2 separate regions of the Homo sapiens genome follow, and region 2 is linked to region 1. The links are contacts of gene promoters, found by promoter capture Hi-C in blood cells and fetal thymus (Javierre and others, 2016). All regions are on one chromosome and are shown on one strand. Each heading gives the region's core, a stretch centred on a gene start or on the middle of the fragment in contact. The rest is flanking DNA. Distances are from core to core; before and after follow the strand shown. Region 1 holds the start of PRKAR1B-AS1 (PRKAR1B antisense RNA 1). Region 2 overlaps LOC105375118 (a long non-coding RNA gene).

Region 1 (5,231 bases), core at 2,732-5,231:
GCTGCCCAGGCAAGTGGCAGGACATCCCCCTGCCTTGGCAAAGAGGATGGGGGCTCTGGGAGCAGAGAAGGGTGAGTCTCCACAGAGCCAGCCCGGGACGGCCGCACCTCCCAGCTTTCTGGGATTCTGTCTCAAAGCGGGGATCCGTGGCTGCTGCCGCTGCAGGCAGGACCCAGGGAAGCTGGACCAGGACGCGCTGCCCATGAGGCCTGGAGAAGCCCAAGGCCTCCGAGAGCTCCCTCCGCAGCCTCAGAGGAAGCCATTGTGCGGGTCCCACAGACGGCCAGGGCCACACTGTGCTCGGCCGCCCGGAGGACAAAGGGGCCATCCTTCTCAGGACACTGGCCACTGTCACCACTCCCGGCGCAGTGCGGGCCCCACCCCAGCTGGTACGCAAAGGGGCTACTTCTTGTTGTGTTTCATTTTTTTGTTTTCTCTCTTTTTTTTTTTTGAGATGGAGTTTCGCTCTTGTTCCTCAGGCTGGAGTGCAATGGTGCGATCTCGGCTCACCGCAACCTCTGCCTCCCAGGTTCAAGCGATTCTCCCGCCTCAGCCTCCCGGATTACAGGCAACTGCCACCACGCCCGGCTAATTTTGTATTTTTAGTAGAGACGGGGTTTCTCCATGTTGGTCAGGCTGGTCTCAAACTCCTGACCTCAGGTGATCCACCCACCTCGGCCTCCCAAAGTGCTGGGATTACAGGCGTGAGCCACCACGCCCAGCTTCTCTTCTTTTAAAAGAAAAAACAATGGGGGTCCCCCGCGGGGCAGCATTTACACCCCACCATCACTGCAGCTTCTCTGGCGCCGAGCTCACACCTGGCTCTGCCCTGCCCCCTGCCCACCTTCACTCGCTCACCCTCTGTGTTTAGAAGTCAATGGTGGGACAGAGGTGCCAGGAGCTGGGGGAGGCACATGGGCAGGCCCCCCATTCACCTTCACTCGCTCACCCTCTGTGTTTAGAAGTCAATGGTGGGACAGGGGTGCCAGGAGCTGGGGGAGGCACACGGGCAGGCCCCCCATTCACCTTCACTCGCTCACCCTCTGTGTTTAGAAGTCAATGGTGGGACAGGGGTGCCAAGAGCTGGGGGAGGCGCACGGGCAGGCCCCCCATTCACCTTCACTCGCTCACCCTCTGTGTTTAGAAGTCAATGGTGGGACAGGGGTGCCAGGAGCTGGGGGAGGCGCATGGGCAGGGAGTGTGTAATGTGGACAGAGCTTCAGTTTAAGAAGACAAGAACATTTGGGAAATGGACAGTGGTGACGGTTGTAAAACAACGTGAATATTCTTAATGCCACCGAACTGCACAAAATGGTTAGAATGGTCAGTGTGGTGTGTCTTTTACTACAATTAAAGTAGGGCCGAGGGCAGTGGCTCATACCTGTCATCACAGCACTTTGGGAAGCCCAGGCGGGAGGATTGCTTGAAGCCAGGAGTCTGAGACCAGCCTGGGCAACACAGCAAGACCCCGTCTCTATGAAAAACTTTAAAATTAGCTGGACGTGGTGGTGCACAGTGGTAGTCCCAGCTTCTCGGGAGGATCGCTTGAGCCCAGGAGTTCAAGGCTGCAATGAGCTATGATCACGCCACCGCACTCCCAGCCTGGGCGACAGAGCGAGACCCCATCTCAAAAAATTAAAAAACGAATTTTAAAAACACACAGAACACAAGACACAACCTGAATAACATCTGATCAGATCACCAAGCTGAGGCGCCCTGCTCCGGGGTACACCCAGCTGCCTGGCGGTGCTCCCCAGCCCCCCAGAAAGAGCTCTTCCCCCAGACGTGTTGTGTGAAACCGAGGGAAGCCCGGAACGGCCAGCGTCAGTGGGGACGTCGTGATGCCTGGGACGGGGAGCAAAAAGAGGGAGTCGGGATAACGGGCCCAAAAACAATCAGGGGAAGAGTCGAGCCCCAAACAGGGCTTGGAAGGGAGCTACGTTCCCAGGCCTGCAAAGTCAGCAGCTGAGTGTCCTTTTAAATAGAAATGCTATGTTCCATGAATAAAATACATTGGAAGATATTTTTATACTTAGAAAAATGGATTATAGCTCTTGGCAACACACGGACGGCAGCAGGCACTTTCGGAGTCTCTGGAAAACCGTAATTCAAACTGAACCTGGTGCTCTTGGCATTTTGTCACCTGGCCGTCCCCCTGGACGCTGCTGGTCAGAGGGCAGCGTCCACCCTGCAGAAGTGGGTGACGTCCACCTCCAAGCTCTGCTGGCTTAAAGGGCCAGGGCCAGGTCCTTGAGGGGACGGCTTCCTGATGGGCCTCCGGCACTTGGCCAGCGCAGTTAAATACCCACGGCAAACGGCCGTCCCTTCCCGCCACGCAGAATAAAACCAGGGAAAACCGCTAGCCTCAGAAACCCACTCGGACCCTGGGTAGCCGTAGTCCTGCAGCCCCGAACCCAGGGTACATCCATCCCATTGCCCCAGGGAGGCGATTTACAGAAACCAGCAAACAACATGCAGCACCCAGGGTTCACACAGCAGCTGGATGGGGCTGCCTGGGGCTGCCATGCGGCCGTTCCCCCGGGTGCTGTAATAACAGTAATTATTATAATACATATGCCCATAACTCACCCGGGCTACCCAACATGCCACTTTTTCATTCCAGATTCCTTACTGAGCATCCTTTGATTCCCTTAAATGTGGCCTTCACCCACACGGGCCCTGCGGATTTACCCTGCATGCGAAGGGCCTCCCACATCACAGGAGGGCCCCTGCAGGCAGCTCCTGCGCCCGGCCCCGCCCGGCCCCGCCGGGCACTCCCTGACGCCCACCCCTGCCCTGGCTGGAAAATCTGAAGTTGATGGAGGTGCTTGGTGTTCGTGCACAGCCGCCTGGGACTCACGGGACAGCCCCATAAGTCACAGCCGGTTCCCGCAGGGGGCCCGGCCATCCCACGTGAGCCTGTAGCCAGGAAGTGGGCATCCACCCACGGGGCTCAGACATCCTGGCTCTGGAGGGCCGGGTCCAGCAGAGGCCTTAAAGCTGCCTTTGTGCCTGACCCGGGGGGGCTGGGGAGGGGTAGGGACGGGCAGGGGGAGGCGCAGGGACGGGCAGGGGGATGGGGAGGGGGAAGGGGAGGGATTTGCCAGGACAATATATTTGGGGAACTCCAGTTACACGAGGGTGACCTCACTCTTTCCTTTCTCAAAATTGCCTCCCAACGTCCCCGGGCCTGGCGAGAAGCCAGGCAGGACGCCACGACGCGTCGTGTCTGAGAGAAAACCGTCTCCCCTCCACTCAGGCTTCAGCCCCGACCCCACGCTAACTGGGCCAGGGCAGGGGCTGGGCTGGGAGGGGACCCAGTGAGCTCAGGGCTGGAGGAAACGGTCCCTGCTTTGAAGTGGCTCCGGCACCGGCCTCTCCCACCACCCTGTCATGTATGAAGGAGTTACAGACGGCGGCGGGGGGAGGGGGGGTCTGTCCTGCTGGAAGGACGGAGGGAAGGGAGATGCCTCACTGAGTCCAGAGGTCGAGGGGTGGGTGGGGATTCTGCGAGGATGAGGAGGAGGAGGAGGAGGTCCCGCCAAGGTCAGCCGGGGCAGCAACACCTCCCGGCCCCTTTGCCGAGGTCCTGGCCCAGGTGGGGCTCCCGGGAGCCTGGAGGCCAACGGCGGAAAGACAGGGACCTGATCCCTCCAGCAGTCCCAGCCGCCGGCCCCTCACACCCTCACCTCTCCCAGGAAGTCCTCAGCATGCTGCCGGCTGGGGCCTGGCGCTGGGGCAGGAGGGTGGCCACCCGCGCTGAAGATGAGGACAAGCCCGGGGCGTGGGTGGTGGGCGTTTCCTCTGTGGGGTGGACGAGGCTCTTGCGGTGCGTGTGTTGGGGACATGAGACGGGGCGGGGCAGCTGCCAGGCGGCCAATGGCTTCCACACCAGGGGCCAAGAGCAGAACCCCAGGAGGGTTATCTCAGTCTTCCCGGCAGCAGTGAGCTCTGTTCGTTTTTCTGAGTAATATGGAAATGGCACGGCTCAGCCACACAAGGGCCTGGGCAAAGGTCACGGCCAGCAAAGAACACAGCCTGGGTCCTCTGAGTCCCGAGTCCACGCGATCCTGACCCGTCCACCACCCTCCTCGAGACACGACAAGTTAGGCGGGAACATAACCTGGGAGCCCCATGTCGGTTTCAGGCTCCACAAGGGATCTCTGGGTAAAGGGTTTGTCTCTTCCACATCTGTTCATTTAGGAGAAGCAAAGAACATGGAAAGCAGAATTCCTGGGGGTGGCCTCAACCCCAAGCCCTGCCGATGCAAACCGGCACCTTGAAGATGCCTTTGGAATTTAACTGGAAGATTTGAATGACATGGGCAGACACAGAAGAGGGAGAAGCATTCCACAGGGGAGGAAAGGCCTCAGTGGGGACCTATGGAGCTCCCAGGCCCACCGCAGGGAGGCAGGTCCTCGGTCATCTGCGGAGGTCAGTATCTATCAAAGCCCAGCCGCAGATAGATGAGCTGGGCCTGGCGGGGTCTTGTAGGATGTGTAGGAGTTTGTGAGGCAGAGCAGGAATGAAAGCAGAGGGGACAGGAGGGGCAGAACCAGAGTCAGGACATTCATTGGCTAATTTCCTGTTCTTGGTCCCTCTCCCCCATTAAGCCACAACCTCCCCCACACCAGAGCAGGCACCAGGTCCTCCTCGTCACAAGTGCCAGGCATAAAGCAGGCACTCAATAAACATCCAGGAAGGAGACGGCAGGGGAGGAGGCGACATGATGACTCCAGGACCCAGAGTGGAGGTGATGGGGGAGGAGGTGACACCAGGACCCAGAGTGGAGAGGGCAGGGGAGGAGGTGACACGGTGACACCAGGACCCAGAGTGGAGGGGATGGGGGAGGAGGTGACACCAGGATCCAGAGTGGAGAGGGTGGGGGAGGAGGTGACACCAGGACCCAGAGTGGAGGGGATGGGGGAGGAGGTGACACCAGGACCCAGAGTGGAGAGGGCGGGGGAGGAGGTGACATGGTGACACCAGGACCCAGAATGGACAGGGCGGGGGAGGAGGTGACACGGTGACACCAGGACCCAGAGTGTGAACTAGAAGAGGGGCTATAAGTAGTAGCATGAGATTTGGGGCTGGGATAAAGCGGTGGGTCCAGTCAGGAAGCTGCCCATCCCATACCTCCCGCAGAGGTGGCTCTGCCTTCAGCACTGCTGACCACTGGGCAGGCCTGGGCTGCCAGGGTCTCTCTGGGATCAGCCCTGCCCCATCTGCTG
Region 2 (5,433 bases), core at 2,273-4,772, 270 kb before region 1:
TTGAAAATGGGAGTGGCATTGGCAGCCACCTGCCCACCCTTCTCCTTCCACGATGGAGGGAGACGTTGCTGCCGAGTGGTTGTGAGGACGGCGTGAGTCCACAGTGTGGGGTAGAGCAGACGGCTTCCAGTGCCCCACCCAGCCCCTCTCCCTTCACCCACTGTCTCTGCCCCACACACCTCCTGGCCCCAGCCCCCACACCCCACCTCCCCCCTCTCCAGCTGCATAGACCTCCCTCCCTCCAGCCGAAAGCATTCCTAGCTCCTGATCATCTTAAAAATAAAACCTGAATGCCTTGTGCAGGGGCAAGCTCCCTTCCATCCGGCCCTGAGTTCCAGCTCTGGCTCCACTGTTCAAGCGTCCGTCCCCCACCCATCCGTCTCTGTGTGCTTGGGCCAAGCTGCCCACAACCCCTCTTCCAAAGGAGCCGTGATTCCCTCACATTCGTCACACAGTCCTCTCCCCTGGCCGTGTGCTCACACAGTCCTCTCCCCTGGCCGTGTTCTCACATAGCCCAGGCATCCAATCAGGGTGCTCCTCATGCAGACTGCAGGGACAGACACATCCTCTCTCCTGGGCAGGGTGGGATATGCGATGTGAAGCCTGGCACTGCAGCAGCTATTTTGTGCCCATGAGGAAGAGCTGGCTTTGGAATAAGGCCAACTATGCAGAGGGCAGAGATGGAAAGAAATTGAGGCCGTGACAGCCTCGTTGAGCCGCTGGGTCAAGCCAAGCCTGAACGCCACCTGCCTCCAGACCTCCCGGCATCAGTCCGTTCCCTCTCAGTGAAGGCAGTTGATTTGTCTTTTCTGTTCCATGCAGCCCATTGCTTCCTAACTCATTTCTTCCCCTCATCTGCACCTGTAGCTGGTTTCTGTCCTTGTGCTGTTTTCCTGGATACCCCAGGCACTGCGTGGCCTGCTGTCTGTGTGTCCAGCCCACTCACTCCCTGTCCTTCCCACCAGCTAGCTGGCACTTATGGCCAAGTTTCCAGAGACCCACAGAGGTGGCCACTGCTCAGAAACAAGGCTTGTTCCTGGGGCGGTTGAGACAGAGATGGGCGCTGGTCCCCGTGTGAAGCTGTGGATACACCAGTGGGCAGCTGTCATGTTCAGACCCAGGACCCAGTACCCGGCGTGGCCGCCCTGGCTGTCGTCACGGCTTCTTTTAAGGGGGCAGAGCAGATTGGCACAGATGTCAGGGGCCCATGCATGTCCCTTGGCCTGGGGGACTTAGAAGTTTTCTCTGTATTTGGTTTCCCCTCTCTCAGCACTTTCTAATATACAGACTAAAACCCCAACTCACTGGGAGGCCAGGATATCAACGGGCTGGAGATTTATGAGGGAAGAGCCGGGTCCCACCAGCAGGCACTAATAGCTCCCTAATTCCTGTCATTAGTTAACGAGAGCCCCTAGGTTCTCTCTACACAGCAGCTCGAATGTAATTACCAGCTGGGAGTGCTGGGCACACAGGCCTTGTGTCCTGTGTTTTGCAAAATTCCCTGAAATGCACTTCATGATTCTGGAAGCTTCAGTCGGCTTGCAATTACAAGTAGCCCTTATTAAAAATCCATGCAGCCTCCCACATCAAACAAAATTAATCAGTAACAAGCTGTAAGGCTATTAGGTCATTTCCCAACACAGAGCAACTCAGGAGTGGCCCTATCTGATTGGCCCATGCACGGAGGCAGGAATTCTCCCATGTTTCTCTGAATGCCGTGAGCCTGACATGAGATGTTTGTCTTTGCTTGAATTACGTTTGGGTGTTATTCTGCTGAATCTATTCCCATTGGCCTGGCAGGCTCACTTTGCAGCGCACACACCACCAAGATGGTCATCTCATTTTGGCCAAGAGCATGAGGAAACATGTGGTCCCTGTTAGGGGAGGACCTCAGGTGTGGCCCTCCTCACCTCAGCCAGGGGGCCGAGCAGGAGCTGTGAGACAGGGTCCTGCCCAGTCTCCCCGCACCCACCTTGCCCTTTGCATGCAGCTCTGGCGCACAGGCAGCCAGGATGAGTCCTTTCAGCAGGCGCTTTGAATCTCATAGCCACTGTCCTTCCCGTCCACCTGGCCCATCCCGGCCCGCCAGGCACCTGCACTGTCGGGTCTCTGCCGGCCTCTATGCCTGGCTCTTCACTCTGCCCACTGGCTGCCCCATGGTGGCCACAGCGACATCTCCCAGCCCAGCCAGGGGCTCTTCTTATGAGAGACTGATAGGAAGGTGGGGTCCAGGCCCCTGCCCTGGCCTCCAGGGTGGGCTTGTGGCAACGGCAGAAACCATCTGCGTGACTTGTGGGGTCTGAAGTCACGGGAGGCGTCGGTGTCAGCCTGGTCTCTGGGAACAGGCACGTGCAACCCCGAGCTGTCCAGTTAGCCGTCTGGATGCTCCGAGGCCACCGTGCTGTGAAACTATCGCACGTGGAGAAGCCCTGAGACCATGGGGAGAGAGAGAGATGCCCGCCTGCCCGCCACGGCTCCCAGGCAGAGCCTTGGCTCATTCTAATCTCTCTGCCTGGACCTCTCCTCCCCGCTGTCTCCACGCGGCCGGCCCCTTTGCATTCTTCACCTCTCTGCTCAGATGCCACCTCCCCTTCATATCACCCTCTGTGAGGGAAACGCCGGCCCCATGGTCCCCCACAACTCCCTCCCTCAATGTCCCGTTCATTCCCTCTTGTGGGGTGATGCTGGTCACAATTCACGCTCCCATATTCACTTGCTGACTTGGGTATTGTCTGCTTCCCCAGCCAGAACATGGTTTCCCACACCTGCCTGGTTCTCTGTTGCTTGCCCGGGGTGCCTGGTACGCAGGACACGCTCAGGATCATGGCCCACTGCCCCGCTGCCCGGACAGGTGCGTAGAGGGATGGTGGCCATTCCCCTCCGCCTCTGTTTCTGTTGAAGACTCTCCTACCCAAGGTTTTACCCTTGAAGGAAATCTTTGCCACTTCGTTGGGCCAGTAAAATGTCATTTTTTTTTAAGTACTGGAGAGGAGGGTATGTTTTTCCTGTGTTCATCGTGGGTGTTCCTTTTTTCTCTTAGAAATTGCTTGGCCAGTCCTCTGCCCATGTTCCTGTCGGCCACAGTCCCCTTTCAACCCACCCTGCTGCCACCCGGAAGGCCTGAACGCCAGCGCCCGTGATGACCTCGGTGCCTGCCCCTCACCTGGGGCCGCCCACCTGTCCCCACCCAGGCTGTGTCTTTGTGTCTCTCTATGTCTTTTTCAATCAATTTTGAACAACTTAAAAGCGAGGATTGATTGAATCTTCTACTCTCTTGTCCCTGCAACACCCAACATGGCAGCTTCATTCCGACAATATTGTGAGGACGATATAGAGGCTCAGTAAGCACTTGCTATTTGCTCGGTTGGTTGGTTAACTTCGTTTAGTTTCCCGTAGCTCTGGCCTCAGTTAGCAAAGTTAATGACATTAAATAGCATATTTTAGCAGTAGCAAAAACAACAAACTTCTAGGAATAAGCCTAATAAGAAATATGCAGGACATCGGTCGGGCGTGGTGGCTCACACCTGTAGTCCCAGCACTTTGTGAGGTCGAGGCAGGCGGATCACCTGAGGTCAGGAGTTCAAGACCAACCTGGCCAACATGGTGAAACCCCATCTCTACTAAAAATACAAAAATCATCCGGGCGTGGTGGCATGCGCCTGTAATCCCAGCTACTGGGGAGACTGAGGCAGGAGAATCACTTGAATGAGGGAGGTGGAGGTTGCAGTGAGCCGAGGTTGTGCCACTGCACTCCAGCCTTGGAGACAGAGTGAGACTCCATCTAAAAAAAAAGAAAGAAAGAAAAGAAATATGCAAGACATACATTTAAAAATATTAAAATACTGCAAGCCAAAGTTAACAGATAGCCAACCAACTGAGGAAGAGGTATTAGCAACTCATACGGTAGACAAGATGCTACTTTCCCAAATACATTTAAAAAAACCCTCCTGAAAACAATGAGATAAAGACCAGCAAACTCATCAAAACATGAGTAAAGAACTTAAATGGGCAACTGGCTTTTTTTTTTTTTTTGACAGAGTCTCGCTCTGTCGCCCAGACTGGGGGGCAGTGGACCAATCTCGGCTCACTGCAAGCTCCACCTCCCGGGTTCACACCATTCTCCTGCCTCAGCCTCCCGAGTAGCTGGGACTACATGTTCCCGCCACCACGCCCGGCTAATATTTTGTATTTTTAGTAGAGACGGAGTTTCACCGTGTTAGCCAGGATGGTCTCAATCTCCCAACCTCGTGATCCACCCGTCTTGGCCTCCCAAAGTGCTGGGATTACAGGCGTGAGCCACAGCGCCGGCCGGCAACTGGCATTTTAACACATAGAAAGACACCCAACCACACTGGTAACAAGGAAACACAAATTGAAACTAAATGGAGGTTCCATTTTATGACGGGTCAGACTGGCAAAAAGCAAAATGCCAGGCAACCCTCAATGTTGACAGACTTGTGGGGAAGCAGGCGCTCTCGTACATAGCTGATGAAAGGACAAGTTAGCACAACGTTTATGGCCACGAAGTTGGCAACATCAATAAAAATGTAAATGCATCTGCCCTTTGGCCCGGCAATTCTGCTTATCCTATAGATACCATTGCGCACAGGTGAGGCCGTCTATGTGTGAAATTACTCACTGCAGCATTATTTACAATGGCCTAAAAGCCCGTTGATAAGAGGTTGTTATATAAATCATAATAGATCCATAAAGTGAAACACAACTGTAAGAAAAACGAGGAGGCTGGGCACAGTGGCTCACACCTGCAATCCCAGCACTTCGGGAGGCCTAGGCGGAACGCTGGGCAACATGACGAGACACCGTCTCTACAAAAATAAATTAACCGGGCATGGTGGTGTACACCTGTGCTCCCAGATACTCAAGAGGCTGAGGCGGCAGGATGGCTTCAGCCCAGGACGTTGAGGCTGCAGTGAGCTGTGACCGCATCACTGCACTCCAGCCTGGGCAAAAGAGAAAGACCCTGTCAAAAAACAAAAAAATAAAAAGGAGTCCACTTTTGGCTTCCATCAACCAGGTTGGAGAAAACAAATGACCACATGTGTCTCAATGTGTCAGAGAGTTACCAAGGCAGCCAGGACCTGAAGGCCCAAGACATTGTGGGGGAGGGAAACGCGTTGAGGTGACCCGAACTTCTGCACCCTTTGGGGCAACCGCAAACTCATAACTGGCATGAGCAGAGATGCTGAGAAGCTGAGCAGGGAGGTCTGCTGAGAATCCGAGAAGCTCAGAGGAGCTTTCAACACTGTCGTGCCAGCAGGAAGACGAGAATCAGAGTGCAGGACTGCTCACACAGCCAGGGCTTGGAGAGACAAGATCCCGGGGAGAGGAAAGGATCCCAACAGTCCAGGGTGTCTGTTTGCAAGCAGCACAGGGTGAGCGCAGAGGGGCTGAGCAGAGGCTGCTAGGAATCTA

What was found. The method cuts DNA at HindIII sites, captures the fragments that hold promoters and counts their contacts. A CHiCAGO score of 5 or more calls a contact.
Region 2: a contact is called between a fragment that was not itself captured here and the fragment with the promoter of PRKAR1B-AS1 in region 1, in 9 of 17 cell types (endothelial precursors, naive CD4 T cells, M0 macrophages and 6 more). The highest score is 7.6, in endothelial precursors.

What each region holds. Positions count from the first base shown.
Region 1 is chr7:598,864-604,094 of GRCh38, forward strand. It overlaps PRKAR1B-AS1 (PRKAR1B antisense RNA 1), which reads left to right and starts at 3,982. Exons shown (of 2, transcript NR_110054.1): 1 at 3,982-4,434. All of the region lies in intron 6 of PRKAR1B (protein kinase cAMP-dependent type I regulatory subunit beta), which reads right to left. RefSeq lists silencers at 2,670-2,779, 3,520-3,579 and enhancers at 4,675-4,724, 4,785-5,231. The HindIII fragment of the contact is 9,643 bases long and covers 1-5,231 here.
Region 2 is chr7:325,384-330,816 of GRCh38, forward strand. LOC105375118 (a long non-coding RNA gene) reads right to left here. Exons shown (of 3, transcript XR_926965.4): 3 at 4,244-5,433. Among named protein-coding and RNA genes, the nearest start is that of FOXL3-OT1, 37 kb to the left of the region's middle. The HindIII fragment of the contact is 3,993 bases long and covers 1,527-5,433 here.